Linked DNA regions of Homo sapiens: all the other regions are linked to region 2. Evidence: promoter capture Hi-C in human tissues and cell types (Jung and others, 2019). All regions are on one chromosome and are shown on one strand. Each heading gives the region's core, a stretch centred on a gene start or on the middle of the fragment in contact. The rest is flanking DNA. Distances are from core to core; before and after follow the strand shown.

Region 1 (4,433 bases), core at 1,342-3,841, 1.4 Mb before region 2:
TTGGACACTCACAGATATATCGCATTCTGTTTTTCCATTTATTCCCAAGATAAAAGGTTTGATAGCCCTCTCGTAGGTTGAATTCTCTTCTATGGATTGTAAATTAGTCAATTTGTGACTATTTTGCTAAGCAGAGTCAAAGATCCCTATTAAAAACAATAATGGTGGCCATTTTATAACTATGGTATTTTGTGCTTCAATTGCATGGATACCAGGGGTTTTCTATGCCTGGTCTCATTTAGCACTTAATCCTGTGCATATTGGGGGCGGGGGCAGTAACTGTTGAATGCACTTTATTTAATCAGGAAACAGAAGCTAAGCGATGTTAGATTGCTCATTAGTAAGTTATAGAACTAAGATTCAAAGTCAAGACTCTCCAACGTCAAAACTCTTGCCCTTCCTAATACAGTTCTGCCTCCTAGCCCTTAATTCTCAGTATCTGATGTTACATAATTTCAAACCCTGGTCAGTCATTGTAACTACCCATGGGTCCCCAGAGAGAATGTGGATGTCTCAGAATGGTCCATCACCTTGACTGAACAGTTAAAATGCAGTGACAACATAGGACATGTTTAGAGGCTGATAATAAAATTTAAAAATATTATGCCTTCCATCAACAGATGAATGGATAAAGAAAATGTGGTCTATGTACACAATAGAATACTAGATAGCCTTTAAAAAGGAAATTCTCGCTGGGCACGGTGACTCATGTATGTAATCCCAGCACTTTGGGAGGCCAAGACAGGTGGATCTCCTGAGGTCAGAAGTTCGAGACCAGCCTGCCCAACATGGTGAAACCCCGTCACTACTAAAAATACAAAAATTAGGCTGGGCACAGTGGCTCACACCTGTGATCCTAGCACTTTGGGAGGCTGAGGTGGGCAGATCACGAGATCAGGAGTTCGAGACCAGCCTGGCCAACATAGTGAAACCCTGTCTCTACTAAAAATACAAAACGTTGCCGGGCATGGTGGTGCACACCTGTAGTCCCAGCTACTTGGGAGGCTGAGGCAAGAGAATCGCTTGAACCTGGGAGGCAGAGGTTGTGTGTTGAGCCAAGATCACACCATTGTATTTCAGCCTGGGCAACAGAGCAAGACTCCATCTCAAAAAAAAAAAAAAAAAAAAACTAGCCTGGCTTGATGATGGACACCTGTAATCCCAGCTACTTGGGAGGCTGAGGCAGGAGAATCACTTGAACCTGGGAGGCAGAGGTTGCAGTGAGCTGAGACTGCGCCATTGCACTCCAGCCTGGGCAACCAGTGAAACTCTGTCTCAAGAAAAATATAAATAAATATAATCCCAGCACTTTGGGAGTCCAAGGCAGGTGGAGCAGACGGTCAGAAGTTCAAGACCAGCCTGGCCAACACAGTGAAACCCCATCTCTACTAAAAATACAAAAATTAGCCGGGCATGGTGGCCGTTGCCTGTAATCCCAGCTACTCAGAAGGCTGAGGCAGAAAATTGCTTGAACCTGGGAGGCAGAGGTTGCAGTGAGCCGAGATCACATCCCTGCAATCCAGCCTGGGTGACAGAGCAAGACTCTGTCTCAAAAATAATGATAATAAATAAATGAATTAAATTAAAAATAAAAAGGAAATTCTGCCATTTGTGAGAACATGGATGAACTTGAAGGGCATTATGCTAAGTGAAATAAACCAGGCTCAGAAAGACAAACACTGCATAATGTCACTTGTATGTAGAATCTGAAAAACCCGAACTCATAGAAGGAAAGAGTAGAATGGTGGTCACCAGAGGCTGGCCGGTGGGTGGGACGAGCGTGAAAAAAGGGGAAATGGTCAAAGCATACAAAGTTTTAGTCATTTATTGCACAGCAGGGTGACTATAGTAATGTATATTTCAAAATTGCTATTAGAGTAGATGTTTAAATGTTTTTACCACAAAAATGATAAGCCGTTGATGGATGTGTTAATTACCTTGAATTAATCTTTCTACAGTGTATGCATATATCAAAACAACACATTGAACCCCATAAATATATACAAATATTATGCCTAAGTACTAGTTAGTGACTGAGAACACACAAAGAAGATTGGAAGCTTTAAGTACATTATCTCTCAAAAGAAAAAGAGATTATTGGTACAATCGTTGCTGACTTGCTGATGGGGCAAGGGGCACTACTGACCTCCTCTGGGCTATGCATAGATGAGGAGCAAAAGATGTAGACAAAGAAGTGGAATCGTGGCCTATGCAAATACCCAGCTAGTCCCTCACTGGAGTGACTCCTTGGACTCTTCCAGGTAGGTCTACATGTGCTGTTAGTTCCCAAACCCAGTTAACGTTTGTGTCACTCCTATAGCTGGAACTGCCTTTTTCTCCAGCACGATTTGTTTTAAATATGTTCTAGTCAGGGCTCCTAGCAAAGAAAAGAGATTTCATCAAGATATCTCAGATAAAGGAAAGTTTTGGAGGTTTGGGTTTTTAAAGAATAAGATATACTATCAATAATGAAAAGTCTGAAGGCCAGGCATAGTGGCTCATACCTGTAATGTCAGCACTTTGCGAGGCTGAGGCAGGAGGATCGCTTGAGCCAGGAGTTCAAGAATGCAGTGAGCTATGATTGCACCATTGCACTCCAGCCTGCCTGGGTGACAGAGTGACACCCTGTCTCAAAAATATAATAATAATAATAATAATAATAATAATAATAATAATAATAAAGATTCTGAGGTTTTACTCTACTTGGAAGCTAACAAGTTAGCCTGCCACCATTTTGTGGATGCTGGCAAAAGACACAAGACTCTTGGTCAGAGACAAGGGATAATTTATTAATTGCTAGAATAGCAAAAGCCAGAGTATCATCATTTCTGTGTCAGTTCCTTAACTCCAAGTCCCACAGGGTGACACAAAGATGGCCAGATATTACCTACGCCTGCAGTGGGTTACATTACACAAAGATCCCAGAGCACAGGGAACCTGAATCTTTTATAATGAGCCTAAACCTGAATGACTTTGCCCCCTTGGGAGAAATTATCTTTATTTTCCTAGTCGGTAAACAAAACGTGCCTTTTGCTCTAGAGGAACACACTATCTTTATCTTCCAAGGCTGTTCATTATACAAACATCCTTGAAAAAAATCATCCAGAACTAAGTCTCTATTCTCCAGAACAGTACCTCTGTTCACAAGATGAGTGGATGCATGAGAGACTCATGGAGAACTGTCTCCCAACACACGCAACCCATGGAACGTGTGGAAATTCAAGGACAAGCCTGGGCCTCACAGAGTCAGGAGCTAGAGGATGGCAGGGTTTGGGGATCTTAACTCTAGAGCACTACTATTACTGGGATTCAGCCACAATCCACATGTCTTACTGCCCTGCTACCAACTGGAAAATCCGTTTTTAAATTTCAGTGCAAAATACAATTGACACAGATCCTTTTTTATCCCGGACCTTAAGGCATATATTGCTGATTAATCTGTGTTCTGGCTTTGGTCCGTGTTCATCAATGACTTAGACAGTAGTGGTTGGAAGAGTTCATATGGTCTTAAAAACCTCCAATGTGGGTGTTGATGCCTCTAGGAGGGTTCAAATAATGATCTCTCTTTTCCCCACACAAGTCCTGAATAAAATGAAAAATAAAACAAAGAACAAGTTAGATGGGAAACTAAATACCACCTCATCTACTGATAAAGATGAAGCTGGGAAGCTTAGGGCAAGACCAAGCAAGCCTACTAGCTGGACCCCAGAGTTAGACAGATTTCAGCACCCACTTGCAGGCAGTGCTGGACAGAGGAGTTAGAATGTCTGCTTCCTTGAAATGTTAGCTCCCAAAAGGAAAGAGAGATTCAAACCATATAGGCCTATTTCAATTCTCCCTAAATTTACAGAGGAAGAGGTAAAGGAGTGAGGAGATGCCATGAGTTCTATTAACTGAGCTTCCTCCACATAGATGGACACATTGGGTAGTATTTTTTTTTCTAATAGTAGGAAGCAGTAACCACTGATACTGGAATCATCTTCAATCTCTTACCCACTCCCCCCACCCCCATTGCATGCTAGGCATCCCCTTCATATCGTATATTTCCCATCACAGTCTCTGAGGCCCTGGAGGACAGGGTCAATGTTCTATTTATCTTTGTAAATAGAACAAAGATTTTTTATATCCCTAACAATATACTATTTGGCAGTATGAAACTAGTAAATATTCTATGAATTAATATATATGATCTCCCCAACAATAATTTAAGCTCTGGGATGGCAGAGACTACCTCATTTAATTTCTATTTCTCACACTGCTGTCAATTAATCTTATTTGATTGCCTGAACCAGAGATCTCAGACTCCCTCAAGAAATGGGGGTTTACTGGAAAAAAAACTTACTGTAATGTTGGAAGCTGGAATGGCATAGGCCTATAAAAGTAACTCTATTCACAGTCTGAAGCAGCTTTAGGGACCAGATTAACAGTTTTGC
Region 2 (4,442 bases), core at 1,642-4,141:
ACTTTGAAGCCTTTAGCTGCGGTAGAAAATAAAAACCATTGCTCTATGTACTTGCCATTAGAAAAAAAGAAAAACCAATTTATAAGCTATGAAATAATCAAAACCGCCTTCTTTACATAAACAATCTAGATACATAATAGTAAAGAAACAAAGGGCATTTAATTCTGAGATAAATTTTGGGCCATTTCATTTTCTTGTAGCTATCAAGAATACCAACAGGTATTAAGATCTTAAGATAAATACGGATCTTTAAAAGATCTTTTAAAAGTAAGATGTCATTGGTATTTAAGTTCTAGACCAGTGCAACTCAAATTTTATTGTACTTACAGAATCCCCAGGGGATCTTGCTCAAATGCAGATTAAGACTCACAGCACAGTGGCTCATGCCTGTAATCCCAGGACTTTGGGAGGCGGAAGCAGGAGGATCACTTGAGGTCAGGAGTTCGAGCCCAGCCTGGCCAATATAGCAAAACCCTGTCTCTACCAATAATACAAAAATTAGTATTTTGGTGGGCACCTATAATCCCAACTACTCTGGAAACTGAGGCACTGAGAATCACTTCCACGGAGGCAGAGGTTACAGTGAGCTGAGATAGCGCCACTGCACTCCAGCCTGGGCAGCAGAGCAAGACTCTATCTAAAAAAAAAAATAATAATAATAATAATAATAATAATAAATATATATATACATACACACACACACACACACACACACACATGATAAAGCCAGATGTGGTGGCTCACACCTGTAATACCAGCACTTTGGGAGGCTGAGGTGGGAGGATTGCTTGAGGCCAGGATCTCAAGATGAGCCTGGGCATCCTAGTGAGATCCCATCTCTACAAAAAATTTTAAAATTAGCTGGGTGCGGAGATGCATGCCTGTAGTCCTAGCTAGTTAGGAGGCTGAGAAGAGAGAGTCGCTTCAGCTCAGGAGGTCAAGGTTGCAGTCAGCCATTATAGTGCCACTGCACTCCAGCCTGGGTGACAGAGCGAGACTCTAAATAATAATAATAATAATAGGTCTGCAGTGGGCCTGAGATTCTGCTTTTCTAACAAGCTAACAGGTGATGCCAGGACACTGGTCAGGGCCTCCCACAGTGTGAGTAACAAGGCTGCATGCTTCCCCTCCCAACCGACTCCCACCGAAGTACCTAGGCAAGAGCAAATCCAGGAAAACTCTTCGGAAGGAAAGTTTGTTTCCTTCTAAACTCATATTTTGACTCATCTTCCCACCCCACCTTCCCAGCCCACCTTTTCATATCTAGGTACTCAAGTCCTGTTTTCCCCACTTTTCTAAAATTCTGACGTCAGTAAAGGACCTGATAATCTCTTTCAGAGGGAAGTGTTGCAAGTTATTTACGATTGCAAAAATAATTTCCCAGCCGGGCGCGGTGGCCCAGGCCTGTAATCCCAACACTTTAGGAGGCCGAGGCAGGTGGATAGCTTGAGTCCAGGAGTTCAAGACCAGCCTGGGCAACGTGGTGAAATCCCGTCTCTACAGAAAATACAAAAATTAGCTGGCCGCCTGTAGTCCCAGCTACTCGGGAGGCTGAGGCAGGAGAATCACTTGAACCCAGGAAGCGGAGATTGCGGTGAGCCGAGATCGCGCCACTGCACTCCAGCCTGGGAAAGAGTCAGACCCCGTCTCAATAAAATAAATAACTAAATAATTTCTCAATAAAATAAATAACTACATACATAGGTCTGCCCTAACATGTTCGGAGCTAGGCAAGAGTCAACTGGAGGCCCACAATTCACATATCTAAATATCCAAGTTATCAGTCAACACCAGCTCCAGCAACTTGCTCCCAGGCAAAAGCTCTGGAGAACTGGAGGCTAAAGGAGCCGGCTCTGCTCTGGGAGAGGACGGGATGGTGGTTGTTCTGACCCTGAACCGGGCGTGGGAACTGACCCCATCAAGCTCCTAGCCCTTATTCTTCTGGCTCAGAATATCCAGGCAGTTCTAAGGGTTACCCAAAACTACACAAACAGGGCAGTCAGAGCAGGGGAGAACAGTCAGCTGGGGGGCCGTCTGCGCGCACACCTCTGGGTCATCTGGGCCACCCACGATGCCGCAGAGGAGCCCCTGTCGCTCGCTCCGGCCTCCCTGGCGGAGCCTGGAGCGTCTCCCCTCCGCTTGTACACACACATCCTCCCGCCCCAACTCCGCGTCCTCAGGCGGTCCTCTCCAGGACTTCCCATCCGCCCAGATTCCGGACGATCAAAAACCCCAGGAAGCGGAAAAAGAGCGCGTCGCTGCAGGTGCACCAGCCTCGGTCAGGATCCAGGACAATGAACCGCGTCCTCAGGCCAAAGGAGCGACTCCGTTTCCAGTTTCGGAAGGGGTTTCTCCAGAATACCAAACACCAGTCGGTGCCTTTCTCCTAAAACCAGCACCTCGGGGTGGGGAGCGCGTTCAGAAGTTCACGGTTGACTCAATTACTGGGTTAATTTGATGTATGCTAACTTCTATAGCCCCGAGTACTCGATGTGCCTGTTTTCAATGGCCATTTAAAAAACAGCTGGACCTCTGTATCAATCTAGAGTTAGTCATCCTTCTTGGAAGGGAGCAGAGGGGCCTCTTAAATGTTATTGGAAGACTCATCACTGCATAGAACCGCGTGGCCCTACAATATTTAATTAGGCAAAGACTAAACTGGAATTCATCTAGGCCTCCCCCAACAGCCCAGGCACAGATTCCGGGAACCCCCGCGGACGCCCGCCGGGCCCCTGCTCGCGCCCCCAGCCCAGGGATCCTGGCCCCTCGGAGCGGCGGGGGGGCAGGCCCGGAGCCACAGCCTCACCTCCGGTACTCCAGGTACTCGTCCACCGCCGCCGCGCCGCCGAGAGGCAACGTCAACCGCTCCATTGCCGGTGGGGAAGCCAAAGGCTTCCCTGCGGACCAGCTGACCTCGAAGCCCGACCCGCCCCGTTCCCTCCCGGTACCGCGCCCCCTCCCGCCCGCCTCCTGATTGGCCCGGCCTGAAGCCCGAGGAGGCCGCGCGCGGCAACTGCGCAGGACGCGCGCCCCTACTGGCTGCCGGCGCCAGGCACCAGAACCCGGATCTCCGCAAGCGCAGCCTCGCGCCACATGGAGTGCAGTTTGCCGCCCTCCACAAACCTTGCACCTATTCCCCTCTCCCTTCCCTGGACCGGCGAGTCTTCTTGTAAATTAACAAGTGACAAGGGAGTGCAGTGCCTTGCATATAACAGGCGCATAGAAAATGGCTTATTTCTTTGTACAGCTCTTTTCGCTTAATCCATCTCTTGAAATATAAGTAGTTTTGAGAAGGTTCTGCTTTAGTTTGAGGCCTGCCTCTCCTTAACTGTCGGCCTGTTTCCAGTATTGGCGTTTTCAAAAACTCTGATGTAACAATCAGTAGTCCTGGGTATCTGGGTTCACTTTGGGGGTTGCTAAAGCTACATGTTCTTCAAAGGAACCGAATAACTGATTTAAGGTGAAGCAAGTAAAAACAATTTAGGTGAAGTTTTGTTGTTGTTTTTTAACTTTTGGAAACACTCTGCAAAATATATTTAGAAGCTGAATTACCATGCGATTGGTAATTTGGCCATAATTTGACTTAGCACGTTGTGGAAAAGAATAGGAAATCTTCAGGCGAAGTCATTAAACTCTGAAGCTCCCAGGGGATCAGCTTTAGCGCCCTCTGTAAAGTATCTGGGAGGGAGAATATGCAAACAATAAGAAAAATAATTAAACTTCAGTACAGTACTTTAGTTTCAAAGTACTGTTCTACATATTTCAGGTCCATAAAACATTATGTAAACAAATTGTTTGGGTACCACCCACCTCCCTTCTCGGTACCCTTTCAACAAACCCCACCCTCTCCCCAAAGTCTTCCTCCTGTTCAGAGGCGTTCTTGACAGTCAGATAAATGAGTGATCCTGAAATCGGATTCATATTTTAGGAAACTGATCTCAGCTCAGTATTCTCTCCTATCACACGTGTGGTTTGCTGCTGTCCATTTTACCTCTTCCACCCGACACCTCCCAGATGGGGTCTTGCTCCGTCTCCAAGGCTGGAGTGCAGTGGCGGGATCTCGACTCACTGCAATCTCTGCCTCCTAGGTTCAAGCAATTCTCCTGCCTCAGCCTCCTGAGTAGCTGGGATTACAGGCACTAGCCACCACGCCTGGCTTTTGTGTGTGTGTGTGTGTGTGTATTTTTAGTAGAGACAGGGTTTCACCATGTTGGCCAGGCTGGTCTTGATCTCCTGACCTCGTGATTTGCCCGCCTCAGCCTCCCAAAGTGCTGGGATTACAGGCGTGAGCCACCACGCCCAGCCCCATTCTACCTCTATGAGAGCCTAGTCTTGCTTTTAGGCAGCAACTGAACTAACAAAGAAAAATAGAAGAAAATGCCAGGCTCTGCAGGCTTACAGAAAAGTGGCAGGGGAATGTCTGTGTAGGCAAGTACAATTTA
Region 3 (4,661 bases), core at 1,740-4,239, 1.0 Mb before region 2:
GACAGGCCTTGCTGAGTTCCTGGATGAATGGCCTTTCCATCATATGCTCTGCCCTGCCACATTTCTCCACCACTGTCCCTCAAACCTAGCAAAAAAGTACTCAAATTTAACTATTTTTTCACATGTTCATTTTCTTATGAAGGCTTCCATGTCATGTAAAACTGCTATTCGGTAAAGTTGCGTGCTTTTCCCTTTTTTTTTTTTTTGAGACTGAGTTTCACTCTTGTTGCCCAGGCTGGAGTACAATGGTGCGATCTTGGCTCACCACAACCTCCGCCTCCCAGGTTCAAACGATTCTCCTGCCTCAGCCTCCTGAGTAACTGGGATTACAGGTGTGCACCACTATGCCCGGCTAATTTTGTATTTTTAGTAAAGACGAGGTTTCTCCATGTTGGTCAGGCTGGTCTCAAACTCCTGACCTCAGGTGATCCGCCCGCCTCGACCTCCCAAAGTGTTAGGATTATAGGTGTGAGCCACCGTGCCTGGCCTCTCTTGTTAATCTGTCTGTTGTGATAGGGGCCTCAGCCATGAACCTAGGATGAGCAGAAGGAAAGATGTTTTTCCTCCCCTCCACCCGCTGGTCACTCTGGCCTCAGCCCTGTTCAACCGCTGTCCCCACTCTTACCACACTCATCGTCAAGGCCTGGTTGTAGTCCTTTGTATCTGTGGCTGTGAGCACGGGGCCTGGTATAGGGAATTTTAAAGATTTACATTGTTGCATATTTGCTGGCTGGCTGGCTGGGGATGGATGGATGAAAAGAATGAAGGAATTAATTGGTGGCGCCCTCAGGGAGCTATGCATGGGTGAAGGTGAGAGTGTGGTGTGTGGTTGGTGCTGTGGATTCTTAAAATGCCAGTTGGTTCCACATTATTTTGGGGACCTGGCAGGGCTTCTGGCAGAATTTGAGGCTGTGTGAATGGTCAAGGCTCCTGTCCTCAGGGAACAAAGTTATGACCTAGGTGCTGGTTCACACTCCTGCACCCCTGTGGCTAAGCGCAAAGTGTGGAGGAGTAGGGTCAGCCTGAATGCTGGTGTGGGCCAGGTGGGTAAAGCCCAGGGATCGTTTCCTTTGTCTTTAGACAGCCATTCTTCTTTTTCTTTTCCATTCTATCTTTATGAGCATCATTAATGCCCACAAGCAAATGAAAATATTTGCTAATACTCATGCCTTCTACATTTCAGCAAATACGGGGCCCTGCCACATTTTTATTCCATAGCCTTTGCTTACGTACACAAGTTAGTAAATAGAATCATAAAGAGAATGCTAATTCTTGAGCTCATTTACTGTTTCTGCTTAGCAAGGACGTAATAACTTACATTTTTATCTACACCTTAGATACCTTAGCTGGGTTCTCAAATATGGAAGTGTTTGAGAAAACATTTCTTTGCCTTTTTTTTTTTTTTTTTTGGAGACAAGGTCTTGCTCTATTGCCCAGGCTGGAGTGCAGTGGTGCGATCTTGGCTCACTGCAACCTCCGCCTCCAGGGCTTAAGGGATCCTCCTACCTTAGCCTCCAGAGCAGCTGGGATTACAGGCATGTGTGACCATGCCCAGCTCATTTTAAATTTTTTTGTAGAGACGGGGTCTCACTATGTTGCTACTCTCAAACTCCTGGGCTCAAGCAATCTGCCTGCCTCAGCCTCCCGAAGTGTTGGCATTACAGGTGTGAGCCACCATGCCCGGCCCTTTTTATTATTTAAAAAACTTTTTATCGCCTGGAGCAGTGGCTCACACCTGTAATCCCAGCACTTTGGGAGGCTGAGGTAGGTGGATCAACTTGAGGTCAGCCTGGCCAACATGGTGAAACCCCATCTTTACTAAAAATACAAAAATTAGCCAGGTGTGGTGGCAGGTGCCTGTAATCCCAGCTACTCGGGAGGGTGAGACAGGAGAATCGCTTCCAGCAAACGGAGGTTGTAGTGAGCTGAGATTACACCACTGCACTCCAGCCTGGACAACAGAGTGACTCTGTCTCAAAAAGAACAAAAACAAAACAACCAAAAACAAACCTTTTTATTATGGACATTTCCCACATGTTAAAAAGTAGAGATAATAATGTAGTGAGCTCCCATGTGCCCACCATCCAGCTTCAGTGACTAGGGCAATTCATGTTTTAGCCATAACTTCACCATCTCCTTCCTCTCCTGCTGGATTATTTTGAAGCAAATCCTAGGCATTATATTGTTTCATCTGTAAATATTTTAGTACCTTGAAATGATAAGGCTTTTGAAAAAAGACTAGCTTTGCCTTTGTAGAAACAGATTCAGAGAGAATGTATTCTTTTGTGTTTGCCATTTTTCACTCAACATGTTTGTGAAATTCATTCATATAACTGCAGACATCAGTATTTTATTTTTTATTGCTGTATATTATTCTATATATTATAGAAACATTGATTTCTTAAAAATATAATCACATAACTACTTGGCCACCTAAATATACTGGCAATACTTTTAAAATATTATCAGTGTTCAGATTTTCCTAGTTGTTTTGTGCATGTCAGGTTTCATTTGTCTGTTTAGAATCAGTTTGTTCAAATCAGGATAAAATAATATTTCCAATGTTTTAAAGATTGTGTCCAGCCTGTTCAGAGAATATATATTAGGGAGCTTTATGTAAGAACAGCCATTTCCTTATTTGTTGGAAGTGGCTGGGCTTTTGGTCAAGCAACATAATGTGTGTAGGGATCGAATTTTATGGGGAAGATGGATGGGTCTTCTGCTCCACTGAGTTACGTCTAAGATGTGCCATCAAGGCTGGGCTGACCCTGTCCAGACTTGTTGGCACACCTTAGACTCAACTTTACCTAACTTGTCCTTTTCTCCTGCACTACAGAGTTCTGCCTTCTCCGAGGGAAGCAAGGTGGCTTCGAGAACAAGAAGAGAATTGACTCTGTCTACCTGGACCCCCTGGTCTTTCGAGAGTTTGCATTCATAGACATGCCAGATGCTGCGCATGGGATATCTTCCCAGGATGGACCATTAAGTGTTTTAAAGCAAGGTATTGCCAGCAGGGCAGGAGTAGTGGGCAGTTGAGGGCCAACTGAGCCCTGTATCCCAAGAGGTGGTGTGGCCTTCAGCATCAGTGACCCCTCAGTGACTCACAGAAAACATATGAGAAGAGAGGTGATGCCGCCGAGGCCCAGTCCACTCGGCAGGACTCACCTCGGTTGGATCTTAGGGAGCCCCAGGTTGTGGGTGCTGTATTTTAGGAAGGGTGGGGAGAATGACGCTCCATGGGGTAGGGGTCGGAGACTGAAGAGTGAGGCAGTCAGGGGCTTGGCATTTTTCTTTCATTGTAAGCACAGAAGCCCTGTTGACTACTAAGAATGGCTCATCAGCCGCGAGGATGGAGAACCCGTTCTGCATCTGTTTTGTTATATTCTGGGCTTCATTGTCAAGACAAGCAATGCTTTGTCAGCCTTGCAAAATGCTCTCTTGGAGGCTCTTTATCCACATGGCATGGACTGCATGGTGCCAAAGAGGAAGAGGGGCCATGCCCAGGATGTGCCTGCAGCAATTCCTTTTGCTCCTCACAGCGTATTGTGCTTTAGAAAGCTGGTTTCTTTTGTCGGGGATGTGGGGGCGCAGCATATAGGAGGAGATGGGCAAGGAAAAGGAGAAACAAATAGGTGAGAGCTTAGCACAAAGAGCTAGGAACCGCTCCGTGTGCGCGCTGGCTTGGAGGGTAAGCACAGAAGCCCTGGTGACTACATCTGTGGAGCTTCGATGAGTCCCAAACCAGGATGCTTTTGTAGCAAAAATGTCCGTATTTGAAGAAATGACAACAAAGGCCCAATTTTAATATAAGGCTTTCCTATCTTGGCTTCCTTGAGATGGATAAGTGGGTGCAATTTTCAGCTGCCACTTGAAGGATTTTGTCATTGTGGGTTAGAACCACAGCAAAATGGCCCTGCAGCCACTGGGTAGCAGAAGGCAGTCCCGTGCTGCAGCTTCCTTCTGTCCTGCCCACAGGCCCACCCTTCGAGTTGGCCATTCTGGTCAGCAGGGGTGCAGTGGGAGCTGGGTGTGCGACTGGACCGACCAGGACAGCTTCTCTCTTCAGGCTGGGACTGGTAAAGACAGTTGTGTGTATAGCAGAGTTTTGAAATATGTTGGTTACTGATGTTCTGTGTTCCTCTGCGTGGGGCTTTATACAACTGCTAGTTGGAATCGTCCATCCTCATGGGTGGTACATTGATGTATTAGTGTGCATCCCTGCATACGAAACCTTTATCAAATCTTTAAAAATAAAATCTCCACTAGACTTAATTTACAAGAAGCTTCTGAGTATCTTAAAAACAAACAAACAAACAAAAAAACCAAAAAACAAAGAAAGGAAAAGAGATTCTAAGGGGAGAGGCCCCTAAGCATCCTGCAGAGGCAATAGCTTCGGGGACTCAGTGCTCAGCTTGAGGACTCATGAAGAAGCAAAGGATAGAGAAAGAATAGCTGTGCTTGCCATGAAAATAGGGTGCCAGCCCCTTTAAAAATGGGCATTAAATATTAAAGGATAGAAAATCTGCAATGTACTACAAGAAAGGACGTGAAAAATAATGTATTTTGGAATTTGTATGGCTCTAAAGCATTGTAAAAGCACTGACTTGTTTAGTAATTCAGCTTTGATAATTTACTTCTAGAGAAGTCATGCTAAAGAAGAA

Evidence for each region. The method cuts DNA at HindIII sites, captures the fragments that hold promoters and counts their contacts. A contact is called where the count stands out against the background at its distance.
Region 1: a fragment that was not itself captured here is called in contact with the fragment with the promoter of FAM221A in region 2 in 1 of the 25 tissues and cell types used here (dorsolateral prefrontal cortex).
Region 3: a fragment that was not itself captured here is called in contact with the fragment with the promoter of FAM221A in region 2 in 1 of the 25 tissues and cell types used here (mesendoderm cells).

What each region holds. Positions count from the first base shown.
Region 1 is chr7:25,101,321-25,105,753 of GRCh38, reverse strand. No RefSeq gene overlaps it. Among named protein-coding and RNA genes, the nearest start is that of CYCS, 22 kb to the left of the region's middle. The HindIII fragment of the contact is 6,269 bases long and covers 1-4,433 here.
Region 2 is chr7:23,678,648-23,683,089 of GRCh38, reverse strand. It overlaps FAM221A (family with sequence similarity 221 member A), which reads right to left and starts at 2,891. Exons shown (of 7, transcript NM_199136.5): 1 at 2,807-2,891. The coding sequence starts at 2,871. RefSeq lists an enhancer at 2,088-2,337 and a silencer at 2,668-2,957. The HindIII fragment of the contact is 14,044 bases long and covers 1-4,442 here.
Region 3 is chr7:24,708,564-24,713,224 of GRCh38, reverse strand. GSDME (gasdermin E) reads left to right here. Exons shown (of 10, transcript NM_001127453.2): 6 at 2,837-3,001. Among named protein-coding and RNA genes, the nearest start is that of GSDME, 47 kb to the left of the region's middle. The HindIII fragment of the contact is 5,076 bases long and covers 452-4,661 here.